Linked DNA regions of Homo sapiens: region 1 is linked to region 2. Evidence: promoter capture Hi-C in human tissues and cell types (Jung and others, 2019). All regions are on one chromosome and are shown on one strand. The core of a region is centred on a gene start or on the middle of the fragment in contact, and the rest is flanking DNA. Distances in the headings are between cores, read along the strand shown. Region 1 overlaps KYAT1-SPOUT1 (KYAT1-SPOUT1 readthrough). Region 2 holds the start of DOLPP1 (dolichyldiphosphatase 1).

Region 1 (5,011 bases), core at 2,291-4,790, 220 kb before region 2:
CACTGTTGTCTCTATACTTCATCTCTGTGTCTTACTTCTTTTCTCAGTCTCTCGTCCCACCTGATGAGATACCCACAGGTGTGGAGGGACAGGCCACCGCTTCACTCAGCTTCCCAAAGTGCTGAAATTACATGCGTGAGCCATGTGCCCTGCCCCATACACAAAAATTAATTCAAAGTGAATCACATAACTAAATGTATGGGCTGGGGACGGTGTCTCACGCCTGTAATCCCAGCACTTTGGGAGGCCAGGGCAGGCGGATCATAAGGTCAGGAGATCAAGACCATCCTGGCTAACACAGTGAAACCCCGTCTCTACTAAAAATACAAAAAATTAGCTGGGCGTGGTGGTGGGCACCTGCAGTCCCAGCTGCTCTGGAGGCTGAGGCAGGAGAATGGCGTGAACCCGGGAGGCGGAGCTTGCAGTGAGCAGAGATCACGCCACTGCACTCCAGCCTGGGCGACACAGCGAGACTCCGTCTCAAAACAAACAAACAAACAAAAAACAAAACTAAATGTATGAACTAAAACAAGAAAACTAGAAGAAAACATAGGAATAAATCTCTGTGACCTTGGGGTTCTAGACATAACATCCAAAGCATACACAACAAAAGAAAAAATAAACTGGACCTCATCAAAATTAAGAACTTTTGTGCTTCAAGGATACCCATTAAGAAAATGAAAAGACAGCCCATGGAATGGAAGGAAATATCTGCAAATCATAAATCTGAATGTTTCCAAAAAAGATACACAAACAGCCAAGGCTGGGCACGGTGGCTCACGTCTGTAATCCCAGCACTTTGGGAGGCTGAGGTGGGTGGGTCACCTGAGGTCAGGAGTTTGAGACCAGCCTGGCCAACACGACAAAACCCCATCTCTACCAAAAATACAAAAATTAGCTGGGCGAAGTCACATGCACCTGTAGTCCCAGCTACTTAGGAGGCTGAGGTACGAGAATCGCTTGAGCTCAGGAGGCAGAGGTTGCAATGAGCCAAAATTGCTCCACTGCACTCCAGCCTGGGCAACAGAGTGAGACCATGTATAAAAAAAAAAAAAAAAAAAAGCCCGGGCATGGTGGCTCATACCTGTAATCACAGCACTTTGGGAGGCCAAGGCGGGCAGATCACCTAAGGTCAGGAGTCTGAGACCAGCCTGACCAATATGATGAAACCCCATCTCTACTAAAACTACAAAAATTAGCCAGGCGTGATGGCATGCACCTGTAATCCCAGCTACTTGGAAGGCTGAGACTGGAGAATCACTTGAATCCGAGAGTCGGAGGTTGCAGTGAGCCACTGCACCATTGCACTCCAGCCTGGGCAACAAAAGTGAAATTCCATCTCAAAAAACAAAAAAAGAAAAAGAATGTTTTAGGCCAGGCCCGGTGGCTCACGCTTATAATTCCAGCACTTCGGGAGGCTGAGGTGGGCAGATCACTTGAGGTCAGGAGTTTGAGACCAGACTGGCCAACACGGTGAAATCCTGTCTGTACTAACAACACAAAAATTAGCTGGACATGGTGGCTCATACCTGTAATCCCAGCTACTCGGGAGGCTGAGGCAAGGGAATTGCTTGGAGGCTAAAGTGAGCTGAGATTGTGCGTTGCACTCCAGCCTGGGTGACAGAACAAGACTCCATCTCAAAAAAAAAAAAAAAGCAAAGAAAAGAAAAGAAAGAAAAAGAGTATTTTGGAGGAATGCTCTGGCATACTTAAAAATAGTTACCCTTGGCCAGGCACGGTGACTCACGCCTGTAATCCCAGCATTTTGGGAGGCCAAGGCAGGCGGATCACGAGGTCAGGAGATCGAGACCATCCTGGCTAACACGGCGAAACCCTGTCTCTACTAAAAATACAGAAATTAGCCAGGTGTGGTGGTGGGCACCTGTAGTCCCAGCTACTCGGGAGGCTGAGGCAGGAGAATGTCGTGAACCCAGGAGGCTGAACCTGCAGTGAGCTGAGATCGCGCCACTGCACTCCAGCCTGGGCAACAGAGGGAGACTCCGTCTCAACAACAAAAAAAAAAGTTACTCTCAGCTGGGTGCAGTGGCTCCTGCCTGTAATCCCAGCACTTTGGGAGGCTGAGGTGGGTGGATCACCTGAGGTCAGGAGTTTGAGACCAGCCTGGTCAACATGGTGAAACCCCATCTCTACTAAAAATACAAAAATTAGCTGGGTGTGGTGGCGCATGCCTGTAATCTCCCAGCTACTCAGGAGGCTGAGACAGGAGAATTGCTTGAACCCAGGAGGTGGAGGTTGCAGTGAGCCGAGATCGTGCTGGTGAGCCACCTTGCCCAGCCATTTTTTTTTTTTTTTGAGACAGAATCTCGCTCTGTTGCCCAGGCTGGAGCGCAGTGGCGCGATCTCGGCTCACTGCAAGCTCTGCCTCCCAGGTTCACACCATTCTCCTGCCTCAGCCTCCTAAGTAGCTGGGACTACAGGTGCCCGCCATCACACCCAGCTAATTTTTTGTATTTTTAGTAGAGACAGGGTTTCACCGTGTTAGCCAGGATGATCTCGATCTCCTGACCTCGTGACCCACCCGCCTCGGCCTCCCAAAGTGCATGAGAGGGGATTTATAGGGAAATTGACTCACGCAATTAATGGAGGCTGAGAAGTCCCCTGAGAGACTATTTGCAAGAGGTGCCAGTAGCGTGGCTCAGTCCAAGTCTGCAAGCCTCAGAACCAGGGACGCCACTGGGATAATTCTCAGTCCAAGGCTGAAGAGCCTAGAGTTTTGATATCCAAAGGGCAGGAGAAGGAGAATCTTCCAGCTCCAGGAGAGACAGAGACAGAAAGAGGAAAATTTTCTCCTCTTTTGTTTTTATTCAAGCCGTGAACCAATTGCATACTGCCACCCACATTGAGAGCGGATCTTCCCCACTCAGTCCACTGACTCCCACGCCAATCTCCTCTGGAAACACCCTCACAGACACACCCAGAAGTCATGTTTCACCATTCTCTAGGTATTCCTTACTCCAGTCCAGCTGCCACCTAACATTAACCAGCAGCACACATCCACGCTGCCAGACATTCGTCAGTTGCAGTTCAGGTTTTCCCACCCAGGTGCTGATTCCAGGGAAGGTTTCTGCTCTGGCAAATCATGATTCTCTGTATCTACCTTTCTGCCTCTCCAGTTTGGGGGCAGCAGGTTACCCTGTGACCTAATTTTCTGATGAACTGAAAAAGAGCCGCTGGTTTTTCAGTTTGTTCAGCCTTTTTTTTTTTTTTTTGAAACGGAGTCTTGCTTTGTCGCCCAGGGTGGAGTGCAGTTGCGCAATCTCGGCTCACTGCAAGCTCCGCCTCCTGGGTTCAAGCGATTCTCCTGCCTCAGCCTAAGTAACTGGGATTACAGTCGCATTCCACCATGCCTGGCTAATTTTTGTATTTTTAGTAGAGATGGGGTTTCACTATGTTGGTCAGACTGGTCTCGAACTCCTGACCTTAGGTGATCTGCCCACCTCGGCCTCCCAAAGTGCTGGGATTACAGTTGTGAGCCACTGCCTCCGGCCCACACGCATTTATTAAGTTTACCATCTTATATGGGCATGGTTTGTGGTTCCCCAAAACAAGCACAATAGTAATATCAAAGATCACTGATCACAGATCACCGTGTCAGACATAATAATAATGATAAAGTTTGAACTATTGTGGGAATTACACACAGACCCTAAGGGAACACATTCTGTTGGAACAATGGGAACAATAGACTTGCTTGGTGCAAGGTTCTCACAAAGCTTCAATTTGCAAAGACCGTGATATCTGCCAAACGCAATACAATGAAGTGTGGCTAGTTTGTTACAACAGCCTTAGGAATCAAATCCAAGGTGATGGGGTTGAGCTGTGTCCCCACCCAAATCTCATCTTGAATTGCAGTTCTCATAATTCCCACGTGTCCTGGGAGGGACCCAGTGGGAGGTAATTGAATCATGGGGGCAGTTACCCCCATGCTGCTGTGCTGGCGATAATGAGTGAGTTCTCATGAGAGCTGATGGTTTTATAAAGAGCTTTTCCCCCTTTGCTCAGCAGTTCTCTCTCCTGCCGCCATGTGAAGAACGTGTTTGCTTCCCCTTCTGCCATGATTTTAAGTTTCCTGAGGCCTCCCCAGCCATGAGGAACTGTGAGTCAATTAAATCTCTTTCCTTTATAAATGACCCAGTCTTGCGCAGTTCTTTATAGCAGTGGGAGAATGGGCTAACACACAAGGCGATGCCAGAGCTCACCCTCTCGTTCCTTAGATTTGAGAGCGGTTCCCAGGAGAGGCCTGAAGTATGTACTCTGACCCCTGAAACTAAGTACCTGTGCCTTGAGCAACAAAGGGTAGTGTTACTGCCATCCCAGGAGGGACATTCCTTGGTGTCACCTCAAGGGAGGGAGTCTGGTGCTTTAGCTCAGGTAACTCAGCTAAACGGATGAGCGGCCCAAGGGCAGGCCCAAGCCCAGGGCTGGTCATGGGAGGCACTCTGTGCCCTCTGCCTGTTCTATGAAGACCAACTATCTGCTGGCCCAGGACTGAGGGGTGTCTTGGGATGGGAACCATCCTGGGCCAAAGGGTCTCTTTAGGTTAGCCATTTCCTGTCCTAGACCCAACATCTTGCTACTTCTTCTAGGACTACAGGAGGAGCTGGATTTCACCCTACCGGGACCCACTCTACTGCTTTCTGACCACTGAGTTAAAAACCCACAGTTGCCTGGTAGGTCAATTCTCTCTCTGACACTCTCCCCCACATCGGACTCTGTGTCCATCAAATCAGTCTTTTTTTCCTGAAGTGACAACATTCTAAGTCATGTCTTCATCATCTCAAGTGAATTGAGCTAATTTTTGTATTTTTTGTAGAGATGTGGTCTCACTGTGTTGCCCAGGCTTGTCTCAAACTCCTGGGCTCAAGGCATCCTCCTGCCGCAGCGTCCCAGTGCTGGGATTACAAATGTGAGCCACTGTACTTGGCCAAGAATAATATTAATAATACAACCAGCTTTAATTTACTAGGACTCACTCTGTCCCAATACTTTT
Region 2 (4,879 bases), core at 400-2,899:
TGAGGTCAGGGCTGAGAAAGGACAGGAAATGCAACCGTGAGAGCCCAGTACTGGCCCCTCACTTGACTGTGGAAACCTGTAAGCCGAGGAGACACCTGAACCAGATTGGGCCGGGCAAAGTAGGGCAGGAGAGGCAGTACATCCCACGCAGCAAAACAGCACATGGTGGCCAGGGGCGGTGGCTCACACCTGTAATCCCAGCACTTTGGGAGGCCGAGGTGGGCGGATCACGAGGTCAGGAGATCAAGACCATCCTGACCAACACGGTGAAACCCCGTCTCTACGAAAAGTACGAAAATTAGCCGGGCGTGCCACTGCACTCCAGCCTGGGCAACAGAGCGAGACTCCGTCTCAAAAAAAAAAAAAAAAAATTAGCTGGGCATGGCGGCTCACGCTTGTAATCTCAGCATTTTGGGAGCCGAGGCAGGTGGATCACCTGAGGCCAGGAGTTCGAGACCAGCCTGCCCAACATGGTAAGACCCGGTCTCTACTAAAAATGCAAAAATTAGCCGGATGCGGTGGTGCGCGCCTGTAGTCACAGCTACTCGGGAGGCTGAGACAGGAGAATCACTTGGACCCAGGAGGCTGAGCAAGATCGTTCCACTGCACTCCAGCCTGGGCCTCAGAGCAAGACCCTGTCTCAAAAAACAAACAAACAGACAAAAACAGCACATGCTAGCGGCAGGAGACAAGAGGCTGAGCCCTCCCAGCCCACCTTACCTGCACTGTAATCCAATCCAGCCAGAGACAGAGTCGGGTAGGAGAGGTGAAGGCGGGTGGGAAGGTGTGGCTGTTCACGCAGGAATGTCTTGGGAAAACTGAGGGGTAGGTGGAAAACCGACTTCTTGTTTGAAATGCTCCCAAGACGCCTCATTAAGTAGCATAGACGTGACTGAATCAATAAATCTTTATTAAATGAATGAAAGGAGGAAGGAGTCCTTAACTGTAGCTAAGCTTCCACTCTTAAGTATCAATTAAGCTTCTCTGTTCAGTCCAGCGTTTAGGGCGCCTACTGCGCGCCCCGCCCCACACACTTTTGACAAAAAGGTCGCCTGCTCTGTGTGACTTGCCCTTTCGCCGGCCAGTATGGGGCAGAGGGAAATAAGCCCCCTCTGCTCTCTGGTCTCAGTTTACTCGTAACTGAAAGTGGGTCGGTTCAAACCCCCTGGAGCTGAGGTTGCCTCTCCTCTTCGAGCACGCGCTATCGGACGCGCAGGTCCCCAAGACCGCGGATCGGCAGGGGGTACCAGGGAAGCCTTCATTCAGGGCGCAGGTCCCAGCCGAACCAAAGCTCCCACCAAAGTTCAACACGCCCCCAAAGCCAGCGCCTGATTGGCCCGCCCTGCCCACAAGCTGAGGCAGCCTCACCTTCTGATTGGCTGTTATGCTCCCTGTTCGGTGCTGGAACCCTCCCCTTCTCTGATTGGCCAGATGCCTACCTGCGCTCGCCCCAGATTGGGCGCCAGCTGGGGCGGCTCGTTGGCTCCCAGGGGCCCCGCTCTCTGATTCGCCGCTCGGGCCAGCCCCCACGGCCTGCACGCTGAATGGCTGCGCCGCTACCTATATTGGCCTCCGATTGGGTGCACGGCGCCTCCCCGGCGTGATAGGTCAGGACCACCGCCCCCCTGGCTCCCCATTGGCTGCTCGAAGAAGCCCGGTCTCCGGGTAAGATGGCAGCGGACGGACAGTGCTCGCTCCCCGCTTCATGGCGGCCGGTGACCCTCACCCACGTCGAATATCCTGCAGGTAAAAGGCGGTCCCGGCTCCAAGGACGCCTTCCCAGGGACGGCCTCTCAGTCCCGGGCGCTCCGGCCTGCTCGAGCCCGCGGAGGGGGCGCCGGGGGACCGGGGTGGGAACTGTCAAATAGTGAACCACGGAGGGGCTCGGCCGGCGCGCGCGCCGCGCAGGCGCAGTGGTGCGAGGATGAGCTGGGCGAAATTGTGAGGCGCTCGCTCGCGCACTCTGCGGCTGCGCGGCCAGGGCGCTCCCCCGGGTCCCGGGGCGCCGGTGGGCTGAAATGGGTTGAGGATCTGTGTGAGGCGAGAAAAGATCCCTGGCCTGGACCTTGGCCCTTCTTCCCCGCCCTCCCCTGTCCCAGAGAGGCCGCACTCCTGTTCCAGCGTGCAGGGAGTGTCTTGTTTCCTTCGAACAGTGCTTTGGGCTGCTTGTAAGAGAAAGAGCTCCCCGTTGCTGGGAGTGTGCAAGCCGAAGCCAGGCTTTTGAGTACTTGTGGTGCCACGCCCTGAGCAGGGCACGATTCCACAACAGAGAGGACCCGATGAGGGGGCGGGCAGCCTCCGGGAACTTGACTTCTGTTGCTTCCCATCAGACACACCTCTCGAAGTGCAGGGCTTTCCAGTTGAGAGGTCCATTAGCGGCGTTCTGGAGGCTGTCTAGTAAGAGTGGCGCAGAGCCTGGGCGTGGGGGTCAGACCCATCTGGGCTCCAGTTGAGGCTGAGGCCTTGTGCAGGTGCCTGCCTCTGCTTAAGTTAATTCATCTCTAAAGTGGGACTGATTACAGTGCTTACCTTCTGGTGATGGTATGAGCATCAAATAGCAGGAGGCACAAGAAGGGCTGAGTACAGTGCCCGGCATGCAGTAAGCGTTCAGTAAATACCTGCAGTTAATGTTATCCCACCTTGCAAGACCCTCCCTGGGTAAGATGGTTGAGTGCCAGGGAAGGCTGGAGCCCCTCATTGAGCCCTGGTTGCCTGGGAAGGGCCTGCTCATGCTGCTGTCTTGCGAGATGTGAGAACCTGGGTCCGCTGAGGGCACCAGGACTGAATGCCAAAGAACGTTGACGCTGGTGTTCTGGGTTGTACTGGGGGTGGTATGGCCCTGCCAGGTCCTGGGCCCTGCCTGCCTGCCTGTCTACCATTCATTCATCCATTCATTCATTCAGTCAATATCCACTGAACACTTCTGAGTGCTAGGCCCTGGGCTAGCTCTGGTTTTTAGAATGCTTAACAGGCCTGAAATATCCCTGCATTCCTGCACTATGAAAACCAGCTGCTTTATAAGAGGAAAGCCAAAGCCTGGAGGTGGGGAAAGACTTGCTAAGGCCTCTGCACCTTCACAGCTTCCCCTCCTGGCCTCAGAGTAGCTTCTTGGAGTGCTCACAATCCAACAAGCCAGAAGGAACCTGGCAGGCAGTTGTGTGCAGCATGATACAGGCTGTGATGGACCTGGCTGAGCCTGGAGCATCTGGTGAGGTCTAGTCCCCTATTAATGCTTCCATGGTTCCCTGCACTTCTCCGTCACACCCCTCTTCACACCGTCACTTGCTTACTTCATTCATTCAACAGTTTTTGAGCCCAGTTAAGAGCCAGGCCCTGTGCTGGGCTTGGGGGATAGAGTGGGATATAAAGAGACCCTGTCTCTACTCCCAGATGCTGTCCTGATATCTACATTAGTGGATCATGAACTGAGTCTGGATGGCAGATTCTCCCGTCAGACCTCAAGCTCTGCACTAGCAGGGACATATGTGTCTTTTTTTTTGCCACTGTGGTGGGTTCTTAGTTGTTTGTTGAGTTCACCCAGAGAGCGTCCCAGGTGGGGGGAAACTGTGTGCAAAGGTCCAGAAGTAGGACAGGGCACGATGCGCTCAGGGAACTCGAGTTTGGTCCTTGGAACTGGAGCAGAGGTTGAGAGGGAAGCAGGGCCAGGACTGTGCAGGGCCAGATGAGCTGGGCTGAGGGGGAACTTGTCCTAAGGGCAGTGGGAGGCCTGAGGGGGCTTGGATCAGAGAGTAGAGAGGCCAGAGTCCCTGGTAGCATCTTCAGGAAAACCCCAGGGTAGTGCTGGCTCTGGGACAGGCTATGGAGATGGCTAAAGCTTTGGGGGTACCAGTCACTCACTATCTTCATAGCCCAGTGCTGTGAGGGTGAGCTTCATAGTGGAGAGGCCCAGGAAAGAGAAGGGACTCACCCACTGTCACCCAGTGGGACTGTGGCAGCACCAGCACTTGACCCCAGGCACTTAGCTGGGCTGCTCTGCTCTCCCAGACCAACTCCAGGCCAGTCTGATCCTGGGTAGGATGGGCTGGGTAGGATCCTGTGTGTGGATGAGACCGGGCATGTGTGTGTCTATGTCTTCAGCCCTGGAATCTGGGCTCAGCCCTCTGTGGACAACTTCCCTGCTGCTTGTGTGAGGCTGGTGGCATGGACCATTTCCCACACTGGGTTCTCTCCACCTCTGCCCCAACATGGAAGTGTCCTGGTTGCCAGGGACCAAGCTGGGTGTCTCACAGGTCCCATCTCATTGAGTCTCATGCAGCTGTAGGAGGTAGGCACTGATATCCCTATTCCACAAGTGGGTGAGCTGAGGCTTGAATCCTTGCCTCAGTTCATGCAGCCAGTGAGTGTGGGCATAGGAGCTGAACCATGCTCTCAGACCCCAGAGTGGCTACATAGCTGCCTGTCTCAAGTGGTGAGGGTGGCCTTCAGACTCAGCCTCCCCTGCCCTTGGATTCTCAGCTTGAGTGTCCCCATCTCCTAAAAGGGGCCAGTGTTCCTCTGCTGCCTCCATCCCAGGAGTGATGGGAGTGTCAGAAGCTGGTAATCAATAGGTAGGCAGTTTCCTGCCAGAGAAGTGGCGCGCAGCTGTTACCGTCGCCCTATTGGGCTTGGTTTCTGTCCGAGTCTTCAGTGTGGACCCAAGTCTGTGTGGTGTCCAGAGAACGTCGGATTTCCCTGGAGGCCCAGGGCTCAGCCAGGGCAGCCCCAGCACAACAGTGTGTGGCTCTCATGTGCCTGCCGGGCTGCCTCCCAGGTCCCAGGCTCCACCTCTGGAGTCACCAGGCCGGGTTCACCTTCCTGCTTTGGCAGGAGGGATTGGTCTAGTGTCTGGAACAGGTCAGAGACTTGGACTTTAGTCCTG

The links. The method cuts DNA at HindIII sites, captures the fragments that hold promoters and counts their contacts. A contact is called where the count stands out against the background at its distance.
Region 1: a fragment that was not itself captured here is called in contact with the fragment with the promoter of DOLPP1 in region 2 in 1 of the 25 tissues and cell types used here (dorsolateral prefrontal cortex).

What each region holds. Positions count from the first base shown.
Region 1 is chr9:128,857,354-128,862,364 of GRCh38, forward strand. All of the region lies in intron 1 of KYAT1-SPOUT1 (KYAT1-SPOUT1 readthrough), which reads right to left. The region is part of intron 1 of KYAT1 (kynurenine aminotransferase 1); the gene reads right to left. Among named protein-coding and RNA genes, the nearest start is that of KYAT1, 22 kb to the right of the region's middle. RefSeq lists a silencer at 4,117-4,411. The HindIII fragment of the contact is 5,279 bases long and covers 902-5,011 here.
Region 2 is chr9:129,079,462-129,084,340 of GRCh38, forward strand. It overlaps DOLPP1 (dolichyldiphosphatase 1), which reads left to right and starts at 1,650. Exons shown (of 8, transcript NM_020438.5): 1 at 1,650-1,746. The coding sequence starts at 1,671. RefSeq lists a silencer at 1,348-2,077. The HindIII fragment of the contact is 10,069 bases long and covers 1-4,879 here.